Linked DNA regions of Homo sapiens: region 2 is linked to region 1. Evidence: promoter capture Hi-C in 16 types of primary human blood cells and fetal thymus (Javierre and others, 2016). All regions are on one chromosome and are shown on one strand. The core of a region is centred on a gene start or on the middle of the fragment in contact, and the rest is flanking DNA. Distances in the headings are between cores, read along the strand shown.

Region 1 (6,585 bases), core at 1,030-3,529:
CAAAATTATATACACAAATACTCACACAACTCTGATCCCAAACTAGAAAGAAGAAAAAGAAAAGTGAGAAACCTGAACAACCCACAAATCTGCCCTTTTCTGAATACTGACCCACGATAAGAGAGAGAAAGACTGAAGCTTAGAATGCTGTGGGACAGCAGCATTGCCGCAGCACCTGTGACTGAAAGACATTTTGCAAATCGCAAGGAAGACAAGTCTTCCATTGGCATCAGTGGAACCGGTGGAAGAAAACCAATTTTATTCTGAGTTGGATGATGGAAGAGTTGATTCAGTTTAAGGTCAAAGAAGAGCAGAACCAGAAATCAAGGCCTCAGGATGGGAACAAAGAACAATGAAGTCAGGGGGAAAAAAGGTGGCGGGGAGAGAGAGTGGGTAACAGACTTGAAACTAAGAATCACAAAACTTAAGCAAATGTTGAGACCTAGCAATTATGATGGGCAGTTTCTATAACCTAGCCTTAAGCTTAGACTTTTATTTTAAAGCAATAACCAAAACAAAAGAAATTAAGGAATTATATCACTGGAGGGAACCTTATGGGCAGAGACTTGAGGTTCAGAGTTGTGAAATAATGCTCTTACTATCACACAGCAAGTTAAGTGGGAGTCTCCATTTCCCTTCTCCCCATGCTTTCCTGCCCCTGCACTGTCAGGAAGGGTGGTGGAGAGGAAGGAGAAGGTACCAGGGCACCCGGGAATACATCACAGCCTGAGGACAGGTTATGCAGGTGGGGCCTTTATAGCTAGGGAAACACCGGAGAAGACAAGGGAAGTATGGCAGTTTCTTCCTTAGAGAAGACTTATAAGGGGGTTAAAGCATATGCTATGTGAAATAAACACCTGGAGATCCAAAACCCTCAGGTGGTAACTAATAATAAGAGAATCATGTTGGGATGCAGCATCTTCAGCGGGAAGCACAAGTTGCTCAACAAAGTAATAAAATAGATCAATAGGGTGCCAAATTTCTTGCCTCTATTACTTTCTCTTCTCAGAATGACACAGGAAATAAATGTAGCCAAGTCCCAAATCTGATCCCAGTACCCAAACTTTCATTAAAAGAGGGCTCCTGAAGGGGGGGAGTAGGTTTTTAATACTTAACGAGGCTATCAGCAAACAAAGAGAAGAGGCCCAGGTGGGCTCAATAGCCAGGTCACAAATGGTTGCCCAAAGAAAAAAACGGTGCAGAAGGAGACGCTTTGGGGAAGAATTGCTGAGGTCTTCGGGAGACTATAGCAGGCTGGCACTATGGAGATGTTTACCTGGACATTTAAGAAAATTGGAGGATGGAGTTGGGTGTCGGGCAGTGGCCTGCCAGAGGCTCTGTTTAGTCCTGGAAGCAGGAGACCTTTTGCTAAAATTCTGTCTCAGTTACACACATGCATTGGCTAAGGCTGTAGGGATTGGGGTGTGGAGACATCTTGCTTCTCCTTCCTCAGTTTGATTATTCAAAGGACATCTGGGAACCCTGAGGGTGGGAGAGTTTGGCCAAGGTTGGAGCGATGTCCCGTGTCTAGGACCCACCGCTATGGTTTGCAGGGAGAGAGCTAAAGGGACGTGAGCAGTGCAGGGACATTGACTGGGAAGCAGAGGGCGTGGATGGAGACACTCTTAACTTCACCTCAAAAGTAGCACAACTTTTAAACGAACGCCTTGCAGAGTCATACCGGCTTCCCGCTCAGATGATGGCTAAAATACAAGAGTTAACTAAAAGCCTCAGGAAGAAAGTTTATTGAATTGCATCTTATTTCTGTAGATTTCTTCCTTGCACTCGGAAGAGTTTGGTTAAAATGGATTGAGAATTTCGAGGCACGTGGCAAACAAACCTACCTTGTTCCCTCCCATTCCAGAAGCCCCTCACCTGATTTGGGAAAGTGTGGCCAGCTCCAGGGGCAGGCGCTGACCAGAACTACGGTCGCTCTTTCCTTGGTCCCCGAGAGCTTCCCAGTATAGAGCCAGCAGTTAGGACACCGTGACATGAAACTTAGCACCCCGCCCTTGAAGTCCCCCAAGCATGCCTGGCGGTCCGCGCGGACTCACCCGCGCCCCGGGCGCTGCGTCACGTCCCGCCGAGGGCCGGCTGCGCTGGTGCGGGTCTCCCGCCCGCCGCCTCGGCGTCCCGGCTGTGCGCCCTCACTCGCTGGGTCCGCTCCAGCCGCTCCCCATCGATCACCGCCGCGGCCCGGCAGAGCTGCTAGCGGCGCGCCGGTCCAGACGTCCTGTCACTCGCTGCTGCCTGGGGTCCTGGCTGTCAGGCGCTGGAATCATTGGCGAGGAGGCAGCTCCGAATTTATAGTGAGGGGCGTTGCTGCTTCTTGGGTTCCGGGGACGAGGCTCTGTTTTGCATTCCCTCCTCCTCCGCCCCGCCCCGGGAGACCCTCCCGGCCCAACCTCCTCCCTCTCGGGATATTGACGGCAGCAAGGATGATGCCACAGTCGTCCCGTGTCAACTATCAGATCAGCGTTCACCTGGTCCCGAACCCCGCCTAGCGAGGGGTCGTGAGGGAGAGCGAGCTGGGGGTACAGGAGTATCATTTCCTGCGGAGATTCGTGTTCTTCAACATTTTTTTTTTCTGAACTTGGAAAACTTTTAAGGACGAATTAGAGAACTTCTTTCTCTTTCCTATGAGTAACTCGAACTTTGGTAATACAGTTGTGGATCATAGATTACATGGATTAATTCCAGGGTTATGAAATTCAAGGGTGGACACTCATTTGTTCCTATTGGACATGCTACCCAAGTTGCATTTTAAAAATGTATTTTAAAAACCCAATAAATATTTAAAGAAGAAATAATATCAATTCTTCACAAACTCTTCCAAAAAATAGAAGAGTAAGGATGATCTCCCAACTCATGCTATGAGGCCAGTATCACCCTGATAACAAAACCAGATAAAGACATCACGAGACTACAGATCAATATTTCTTAAGAGTATAGATAAAAATTCTCAACAAAATGTAGGCAAATTGAATCCAATAACATATGAAAGGGACTATACACCATGGTCAAGTGAGGTTGATGCCAGAAAGCAAGATTAGATTAGTTTACCAAAAATCAATTAATGTTAGATAGGTGAGTAGGGTGACTGTAGTTTACAGTAATCTATTGTATATTTCAGAGTAGCTAGGAGAAAATAACTTGAATGTTTCTAGCATGAAGAAAAGACAAATATTTAAGGTGATGGATATGCCAATTGCACTGATTTGATCTTTATATGAATGCATTAAATTATTGCATGTACCTAAAAAGTCCTGTCACTCGCTGCTGCCTGGGGTCCTGGCTGTCAGGCGCTGGAATCATCGGCGAGGAGGCAGCTCCGAATTTATAGTGAGGGGCATTAAATTATTGCATGTACCTAAAAAGTGTACATCTATTGTGTATCAATAAAAATAAATTTAAAGAAGTAAAAAATGGACAAAGCCTACATGATTGTCTAAAAAAATTTTTAAAAACTATTGGACAAAATTCAACACTTTTTCATGCTAACACTCAACAAACTAGGAATAGGAACTTCCTCAAACTGTGAAGTTTATTTATGAAAAACTTAACTAATATCACACATAATAACGGAAGACAACGTTTTTATGTCTAAGATCAGGAACAAGACAAAATGTCTAGTCTTCCCATTTCTATTTAACTTTGTACTAAAGGTTCTAGTGAGGGCAATTGGACAAGAAAAAAAGATAAATGGCATCCAGATTAGAAAGAAAGTAAAACAATTTCTATTTGTAGATGACATGATCTTGTATTAAAAAGCCCTAAGGAATCAATTAATTAACTATTAGAACTAAGAAACAAGTTGAGCAAGTTTTTAGAATACAAGATCAATATACAAAAATCAGTTGTATTTCTATACACTAGCAATAAACAATCAACAAATGGAATTAAGAAAACAATTCCACTGTTGGCTTCTCACCACTTGCTGTGTGGGTCTGTGTCCTCTCCCTGCCTCACATGCTGCCATGCCTCAAAAAGTTAAGGAGATCAAGGACTTTCTGCTTACAGCCAGGTGAAAAGATGCCAGATCTGTCAAGGTCAAGAGAAATAAGGATAATGTGAAGTTTAAAGTTTGATGCAGCAGATACCTTCATACATTAGTCATCATAGACAAAGAGAAGGCAGAGAAACTGAAGCAGTTCTGGCACCCTGGTTTGTTAGAGAAGGAGATGAAATCAGACACACTGATTTGAACTGTGTTAAAAATTTAAAAATTCAAAGATAAAAACAATTTTACTTACTATAGATCAAAAGAGTAAAAATACTAAGAAATGACCTGGTGTAGTGGCTCACTCCTGTAATCTCAGCACTTTGGGAGGCCGAGGTGGGTGAATCACAAGGTCAGGGATTCGAGACCAGGCTGGCCAACATCGTGAAACCCTGTCTCTACTAAAAATGCAAAAGAAAAAAAAAAAAAAAAAGCCAGGCGTGGTGGTGCATGCCTGTAGTTCCAGCTACTCAGGAGGAGGAGGCTGAGGCAGAAGAATCGCTTGAACCCAGGAGGTAGAGGTTGCTGTGAGCTGAGATTGTGCCACTGCACTCCAGCCTGGGTGACAGAGTGAGACTCCATCTCAAAACAAACCAACCAACCAACAAAACAAAACAAAACAAAAAAAACCCTAAGAAATAAATTTAACAAAAGGATCTAAAACTTGTAGTCTGAAAACAAACAAAAAGAATTGTTGAAATAAGGTAGACCTAAATAAATGGAATGACATTCCATGTTCTTGGATTGAAAGATTTAATATCGTTACAATGGCATTAATCTTCAAATGATCTACAGGTTAAACAAAATCTCTATCAAAACCCAGCAAGCTTTTATTGCAGAAATGAATGGAGTTATCCTAAAAACATGTAGCAGTGCGAGGGGCCCAGAATAGTCAAGACAATTCTGAAAAAGAACAAACTTACCAATTTCAAAATTTACTGCAAAATTACAATAAACAAGACAATGTGGTACTGGCATAGCAATAGATAGAAAGATCAATGGAACAGAATTGTGTCCACAAACTAAACCCTTACATTTATGAGCCACTAGATTTTGAAAAGGGTTGAAAAAATGCAGAATGAGTAATCTTTATTACAAATGGTACTGGAATAATTGGATATCTGCATGCAGAAGAATGAAGTTGGACTCCTTATAATACCACATGTAAAAATTAAGTCAAAATGGATCATAGACCCAAGCTTAAGAGAAAAATTATAAAACTAAATAGAAAACGTAGGAGTAAACCTTTGTTACCTTGGGTTATGCAAAGCCATCTTAGATACAACTCCAAAAGCATAAGAAATACAAGAAAAAGTAGGTAAATTAATTTGATTTCATCAATATTAACAGCATCTATACTTCCAAGGGTATCAAGAAAGTGAAAAGAAAAAGCCAAGAATGTGCAAAGATATTTGCAAATTATATACCTGATAAGGACTTGTGTATAGAACATATAAAGATAATAAAGCACACACAAAGATAATAAAAACACCATTAAAAATGGTCAAAGGATCTTAATATACATTTCTCTAAAGAAGGTAGACAAACACATAAAAAAACTCAACATTATTAGCCAGCAGGAAAATGCAACTCAAAGGAACAATTAGTTATGATTTTAGGCCTACTAGGATAGCTATAATCAAAAAGTCAGATAGTAACAAGTGTTGTCCAGAATGTGGAGAAATTGGATCCCTCATATATTGTTGGTGGGAATATAAAATAGTGCAGCCATTTTGGAAAACAGTGGCAATTCTTCAAAATGCTAAGCATAGATAGAGTTACCATATGGCTCAGCAATTCCATTCCTAGGTATATACTCATTAGAAATGAAAACATATGTCCACACAAAAATGTAGACGTGAAAATTCATAGCAGCATTATTCATAATAGCCCCAAAGCAGAAATAAGTCAAATATCTATCAACTGATGAATAGATAAAATGTGATATCTCCATACCATAGGATATTGTTTGGCAATAAAAGGGAATAAAGTACATGTTACACATGGAAGTGCCTTGAAAACCTTGTGCTAATTGAAAGAAGCCAGTCACAGAAGAAGACATATTATATGATTTCATTTATATGAAATATTCAGGAGTGACATAACTGTAGAGAATTTTGATTGCCTAGGCTGAGAGTGGAGGGGTAGGAGGGAATGGTAGTGTCTGCTAATTGGACGATGATAAAAAATTGTACATTTGATTATGGTGATCATTACACAACTTTTGTATGTTTGAAAACATACAAAAAACATTGAACTGTACATCTTTGTTAAAAGACAAACCTAGTCAAATTAAATTTAACAGTGCTTAATTGAGCAAAGAGTGATGTGCAAATCGGGCAGCCACTGAACTGCAATAGGTTCAGAGAGACTCCAGCACTGCCTCGTGGTTGAAAAAGATTTATGGGCAGAAAAAGGAAAGTGATGTAAAGAAGACAAAAATGAGGTACAGAAATAGAATTGGTTATAATTTGGCATTTGCCTTATTTGAACACAGTTTGAACAACTGACCACCTTAGATATGCTGAAACTCTGTGATTGGCACAAGAGTAGGTTTCAGTCTTTTCAGCATCCAGTTAGGTTAC
Region 2 (6,837 bases), core at 3,979-6,478, 230 kb after region 1:
GTGCCCATCACAAAATGAATATATTATATCCACCAAATCATAATATCAGGAAGTAACGGCAACAATCCATTGTACAATGGAAATGGTATATTCAGGATGGGGCTCAAGAGGGTCTGAAGTCCATAAACAAGTGACACAACAGGGGACCAGAGCCCCATGTTACATGTCCCTGTTGCATCAGTGCCTTTTCTTTCACTTACAGCTATGGCCTTGTTAGGGGATACCTGAAACTAAATGATAGATAAAGAATCAAAACAAAACAAAACACCCAAGCCTATATCTCTCAGATGGGTTGACTATGTTGATGAAAGCCAGAAATGGACTTCTGCTACATTCTAGCCCAAATCAAAAGTGGCTCTGAAAGATAGTAGAGAATACATTCCTCCAAGTGGGCAGACCTTAAAGCAGTACACCTGGTAGTAAACTTCATGAAAAAGGAGAAGTTCGGTTAATGATATACATGAGCACATTGGCAATGATGAATAGCTGGGCTGGTGGTCAAAGGTTTGGAAGAAGCAACATTGAAAGATGGGGATCAATCTGAAGAAAAAGCATGTGGAAGAACCTGCAGGAATGTGTCTCTGATTAATGCCTACAAAAGTATCAACCACAGAATAGCCACCTGGATAAAATGACTCAGCCAGTGGATATCAGCCAGACTTGTTTTTTAGTTACTTAAATGATAGTATAGGGACTCACACATGGAGTAGCAGAAATGGAGATTATGCATGGTCTCAAAGGCATGAGATGTTTCTCACCAAGCCTAATATGGCTACTGTTACTCCTGAGTGTTCAACCTGTCAGCAGCAGAGACTTGTAAGCAGACTTGCACTATGCTCTCAATTTAGTCTTCTCTGAAGAGACCAACAAACTACCTGTCCTCACATTGATAGCATTCTATTTTTTCCATCCTAGAAGGATAGCAATTGTCCTGACTGGCATTAATATTCTAATTAGGCTGGCCTTTCATACCTTACTGCCTTCACCATCACCAATATCTGAGGTTTCATTGTGTTTGACTTATTATCACTTATTATCACAGCATCACATATATTATCTTAGATCAAATGATCCACTTTATAGCAAATAAAGTATAACAATGGCACATGTTCAAGAGCTCCATTGATCTCACCAGTTACAGCACCTAAATGTTTCCAGGCTAATAAAATGTTGCTTAGAGCCAATGGGAATTAATATGCTCTTTCCCTGATCAGTAAAACATGCATCTAGGAACCAAAAGGTGAACGTTGGAGTGCCTTCTCCATTATTACTCCCCATGGCCCACTTGGTGAATTTGCGCTGGACTAGGGGCCTTGTTGTCAAAGGGGATTATGCTGCTAAGGTTTCTCTAAATCTAAGCTAACCACTGCCCACTTCTTTAAGGGTTGTCATGCCAGTAGACAAGCAGGTAAAGAAAAAGTTTCTTTACTATTATAATTGGTATAATTACACAGTAATAAACACATGCCATGAGTACCATGAGGAAATATCGTTGCTACATATTACATGATGTGGGCAGAGAAGGATATGTCTAGAACCTAGAGATGCATTAGGTCATAGGTCACATCTTAGTGCTTCCATGCTCATTGATAACTGTGATTAGGCAATTATAGCCATCATAACCTAACAGGATACCTGCGGTGCAGACTCCTCTGCCTGGATTATCCCAATAGACAAGCAATTTAGTTTGGCAGAAACGTTGGTTGAAAGTGAAAGGAAACTAGAATGGGTAATAGAGGAGAGAGATGATGAATATCAGTTGTGGTCTCAAGATCAAGTGCAATAGCCAGAACTAATCTCCCTCCACCATTTTTTTTTCCAAAATTGTATCTGGTTACCATTTTGAAGAGGCTTTGCCAGGATGGATGGAGTGAACTTGACTTGGGTCACAGGTAGATCTGAAGAAATAGTTGACTATAACAGGTGTTGTCTGTGCTCCTCCCATATCATTGCAGTGTAAAATGGCCTGTGACTTTTAACTGGGTGAGGGCTTTCTCTTACACCACAACTTGCCTTGTACAGCAGCTTGAAGTGCTGGATAATTCAAATCCCCTGAGGGATCCCTCAGCTAAGGGTGATGGAAGTTTGTGCACAAATATCTCAGCTTTATCCCCTCTCAAGTGGGCTGAGTCTGTGGAATTTGTTTTACATTCAATCTGTAACATGATCAATCTCTAGTTACTGATAGTGGTAAACTAACTTAACAACACTTTCTTCATTGGCTGCCCTCAAATTCCTATCTCAGTTCTCCATAACCTGACTGGCATTTGCTTAGCTCACCTCCCTAATAAATAAACTTTTTCCACTTGAATTCTCAACTCACAGTCTGCTTCTGGGAAACACAAATGAAAAAAAGCATGCATTGCCCATTTTGGCTTTGAGCTTTACCTCACCAGTGCAAAAATACTCAGCAGTCAGATCAGGCAATCTGACAGCTGAATATTTCCTTTGCAAGGGTTTTATAGTTTACAAAAGCTGCAATGGCAGGGAGCTTTTGTAAACTACAAAATCACATGGATTACATGAAGTAATGTAAAGGCTAGCATTTCATTCTTGAGGCTATCTAATCCCCTTTGGATTACCAGGATGTACAGGGCTACTTGCTTTGAATTCCAGTACTTCGAGACTCTTAGGCTTGTTATGAATAATACTTATTGAGTGTTTAATATATTCTGCCAACTGTTCCAAGTGCTTTACATATGTTGGTTAACTTCATCTTCAGCAATCCTATGAAGTAATGTAAAGTATCTATGGGGTAAAATTAGTTTTCTTGATGCTGAATCCACGATCATACCACTGGTCTTCTCCTATTTACTCATATCTACCTCTTCTAATATACATGCCTAAGGGAGCAGATGAATAAGCTCTGCACAAGATAAGAGTAAGTAAGTCATTAACAAGTGTCACTCAACTTTGTAATACCTGTTTAGGTTCTTCAGATGATTTTTCAGATGTCTTCATACAGTGAAGTTGCTAGATAAGTGACTTATGGAAATTGTATATTTCATATGAATTGCAACCCCTATTTAATGGATTTGCCCTTCCTGTTTCTGTTTTCATATTCCCTCCCCATGATGTTAGAGCTAATTCTAGTCTTTTAAATTTGTGAGTTATAGTCTCAATTTAAATCAAATGCTTTGGGCATAGGTATATAAATTCGTGTTCAAATATACTTAAGATGTATTTGTTATTGTTGTGTGCTCCAAAACTTAGGGTAACTAGATGGGTATATATTTAGTGAAAGAGCACAAGTTGAAACTAAACCAAAAACTGTTATTATGATTTAGTTGTTTAAAAGAGTGAATCATTTAGAGGCATATATTTGAAGTGATTATCTGATATATAAACCTTTAACTAGATCTTAAAATATTATATTTTAAATTTAAAACATTGCTTTGAAATGTGACTTTGTAAAAATAAATAAATAAATAGATAAATAAATACATAATTGTATTCCCAGTCCCTTTCTCATTGAAGATAGATTGACTTTAGGTAGACTTATTAACTAAATTATATATAAGTTATGACTACATACTTTCCCTTCTTGCAGTCATAGCCCTTCTAATTCTTTCTTTATTAGTCAAAATTTTGACATATTTCATGTAATATATTTGCTGTTTGATGTATGGTACTATGAAAATTTGTCATCTGGCTATTTAAATATTTACTTCAGTGAGGTATAATAGAATTAGGACAATTGATTGAGAAAGGCACTATTTAGAAGATAATATATTATAATTGTGTAGTATTTTAGCAGGATAACTACATCATTAGCTTCATATTTATGCATATTCTTCTTTATTCCTTCTGAAGAGAGTCAGCAGCTTGAGATTTGGCCCAACAGCTACTGACAAGGGAGCTTTCTGCAAGGATAAAAGCTTTGAAAATCACTACAAATAAAGCATCTTGTTTTCCATTAAGTTACATTCAAATATCCATGTACTGTACCCTGTAATTAAGTCAAATATCAATTTTAATCACTGCATCCTTAGTACATAATTTCTGTAATGCAATTGCAGCAGTATAATATGGAGCAGCTAAAATGCCCTCGTTAAATGGAATTTTAACTGCGGGAAATTGAGATACAAAGAAAATCATCATACCTGCACTTAAGCAGTTAAGCTGAGAGATTTATGTTTAGGAAAGTAGGGGAAGAGAGACTGGTTTAATTCACAAATTATTGTCCCTGCTAGTCTACATCTATGATTTTGAAATAAGAATACTGACTATGCTTTGATTTTAGAGAGTATCTGAGAGTATCTTTAGAGAGTATCTACATCTATGATTTTGAAATAAGAATACTGACTATGCTTTGATTTTAGAGAGTATCCAAAGAAGTTCCTTAAAGATAGGACTCCTATTAGTTAATAAACTGATCCTACAATTAAGTTTGAATGCTATTATCTCAACAGATAGCAACATTAATTTTGGGGAAGAAAAGTATCTTCCTTTTGCTAGCTTTCCAAGAAAGGAGTTTGACTGTGTGAGTAAAAGCTTTATTATTTAAAGTACAACTTGCAGCTCTTCAATTAGGAGCAATTTCAAATGTCAGATTTAAAGTCTGTAGAACATCTCACATAAATGTAGCAATTGCCTTGTACATCACTTGGCAATAGTTTAACTCTGTTTAAGACTGGAAGAAAATATTTTGAGTAAAATAGAAATGACAAAGTAACTACTAGATGTCATCATATTTTCTTTATATTGACACATTAGCATATTAGGAAAAAAATGTCTGGTCATATATGGATATTGCCAGGCTTAAAACTCTTGCTCCCTTCAGTGAGCTGGCTCAACATTCATACTGTCATTGCTCCAAGAAATGGAAATCATCTGAGATGTCATTATGTAGCTAGTGGATCTAGAGCCTTGATAGAATATTTACAATTAAAAAAGACAAAGTTTTGAAAAATCCATGAATAATTCATCTGACTATTTACACAAGACATTCAGCTGAAATATTCCAGTGTTGCATATACAAGTGCATGCTTAAGCTACTCCTTTTTCTTTATGATGAGAGGGAAATAGTTTGCTGGGCACACCCTTCTTGTCAATGGTGCAAATCCTTTTAGAATCCAATTTTGAACCTGCCATTTGGATTAGGTTCATGTTCATAGCTTTTGAATTATTGATTACTTGAAGGCCAGGGCATCCCAATCTGTGTCATAGATGCATAATTTATCATGATATTTAAAAGCATGTATATCTTAAAGGCTTTTGGAACTTTATTTCAATGCCTAATGACAACATATCTGGAGCTTTTTATGTTTTCAAAGTCTTGGCAAAAAGACAGGGCCTTCTGGTGCTGTGGCCTCACGTGACAGCTCAGTACCTTTTAATGTCCCCTTTCTGTCTTTGAATTTTATACTTTTCCTTTCTGATTTGGTTCTTCCCCTGACCCCCAGTCCTTCACATCACTAACTCTTTCTTTGGTCTTTGTATATGTTTTAAGACTCTATTTCACAGGCCCCCCCATGGTGCCCCCATGTTTTCTTTGCATCTCTCTTCTTTATGTTCTTCTTTTGTGCATTCTGCCTTTTTTGATTTCTGCTGCTTGAGAAAACCCTTTCAGACATTTATTTCCTATTTATTGTGTTATTTTTCTTTGTAGGAAGAGCCTAGTTAATTTATTACTGGTCTGAATTTTGTCTCAGATGCCTCTAACATTTGCCACACCACAGTGAAGAAAAGGGGTGGAGAATGGCAAACTTCCTTCAACTTCTGTTGTTAGAATGATAAAAGTTGAGTGGGGTGATTTCAAAGCTGGGGGTGATTCAAGCCTTCCTCTTCTCCAGAGTTCACGTCAGCCACCACCACAATGAGGCTGCCACCTTCCCACTTCCTTGCTCTTAAACCTAACAATGACAATCAGTACTCAGTCACAAACTGACAGAAATTCCAACTTGCAGAGTCAGAAAAGAAAAAGGGGCCAAGGATTGCTGGTGAGACGGAAGAAGCTTGAAGTGCAGACACATGCTTAAAGGAAAACTGTTTGATAAAAACACCCCATTTTTCCATTTTAAATGCCTTTTCAGTTTTTGTCTCAATTATTTTTAATCTTTCTTCTAAAGTGAGGTTTGAGTAATCTTTTTTAGAATGTAATCTTTATTGGTCCATGAATTAAGACAGATTATTATAAAGAATTATTGTTTTATGTATGGGATACAAATCAGAATTTACATTTATGTTTTCTTATTGTTTTTGAGGAACGTGACTGCTGCCTAGAATAAAATATTCTCATAAAAGGGTAGTGTTCACAGAGATACATATAATGGCTTATTGAGGCCTTTCTTCATATTTTTTATGTAGAATTAAATACACTTATTATGAAGACATCTTAGGTGATATATTGAGAAATAAGATTTAAAATGTGATTCAACATTTCTGCATACTTTATGTAACCTGCCTGTGAAAGAACCCTAGGGTTGGTGAAGATAATGACATACTAGCAGTGTGATACCGCTTATTAAAATTTCTATATGTCGTTGTTTTCTTTCAGAAGATCCAATTTGATCCTTGGTGTTTCAAAATCCATCTAATGCAGGTTTTCTCCTGTAACAGAAAAGGGCTATCTACAGGCAGGATATCCCATTTTGGTATCCTGTTAAGTGACTTTTAGACTTCCAGAGTTTGTCTTCTTTACCACTTGATATTGACGTCTTACTGCTCTTCACATCTAAGCCAAAGGATAGCGTTTTCTTCTATATTAATTCAAAGGTTCTTTAAGATCCGTGCACACAGGCTTTGTTTCACACCTTTGAACTAAGGTGCCTGGGATGCCTTCCATTCCTCAGAACAGACAAAAGCGAGCTCTCAACTCTTCTATTAAATGACTCA

Evidence for each region. The method cuts DNA at HindIII sites, captures the fragments that hold promoters and counts their contacts. A CHiCAGO score of 5 or more calls a contact.
Region 2: a contact is called between a fragment that was not itself captured here and the fragment with the promoter of AGTR1 in region 1, in 1 of 17 cell types (megakaryocytes). The highest score is 6.1, in megakaryocytes.

What each region holds. Positions count from the first base shown.
Region 1 is chr3:148,693,597-148,700,181 of GRCh38, reverse strand. It overlaps AGTR1 (angiotensin II receptor type 1), which reads right to left and starts at 2,279. Exons shown (of 3, transcript NM_000685.5): 1 at 2,055-2,279. It also overlaps the pseudogene RPL38P1. The HindIII fragment of the contact is 4,344 bases long and covers 486-4,829 here.
Region 2 is chr3:148,465,304-148,472,140 of GRCh38, reverse strand. LOC105374150 (a long non-coding RNA gene) reads left to right here and starts at 6,350. Exons shown (of 7, transcript XR_924571.2): 1 at 6,350-6,837. The HindIII fragment of the contact is 1,463 bases long and covers 4,497-5,959 here.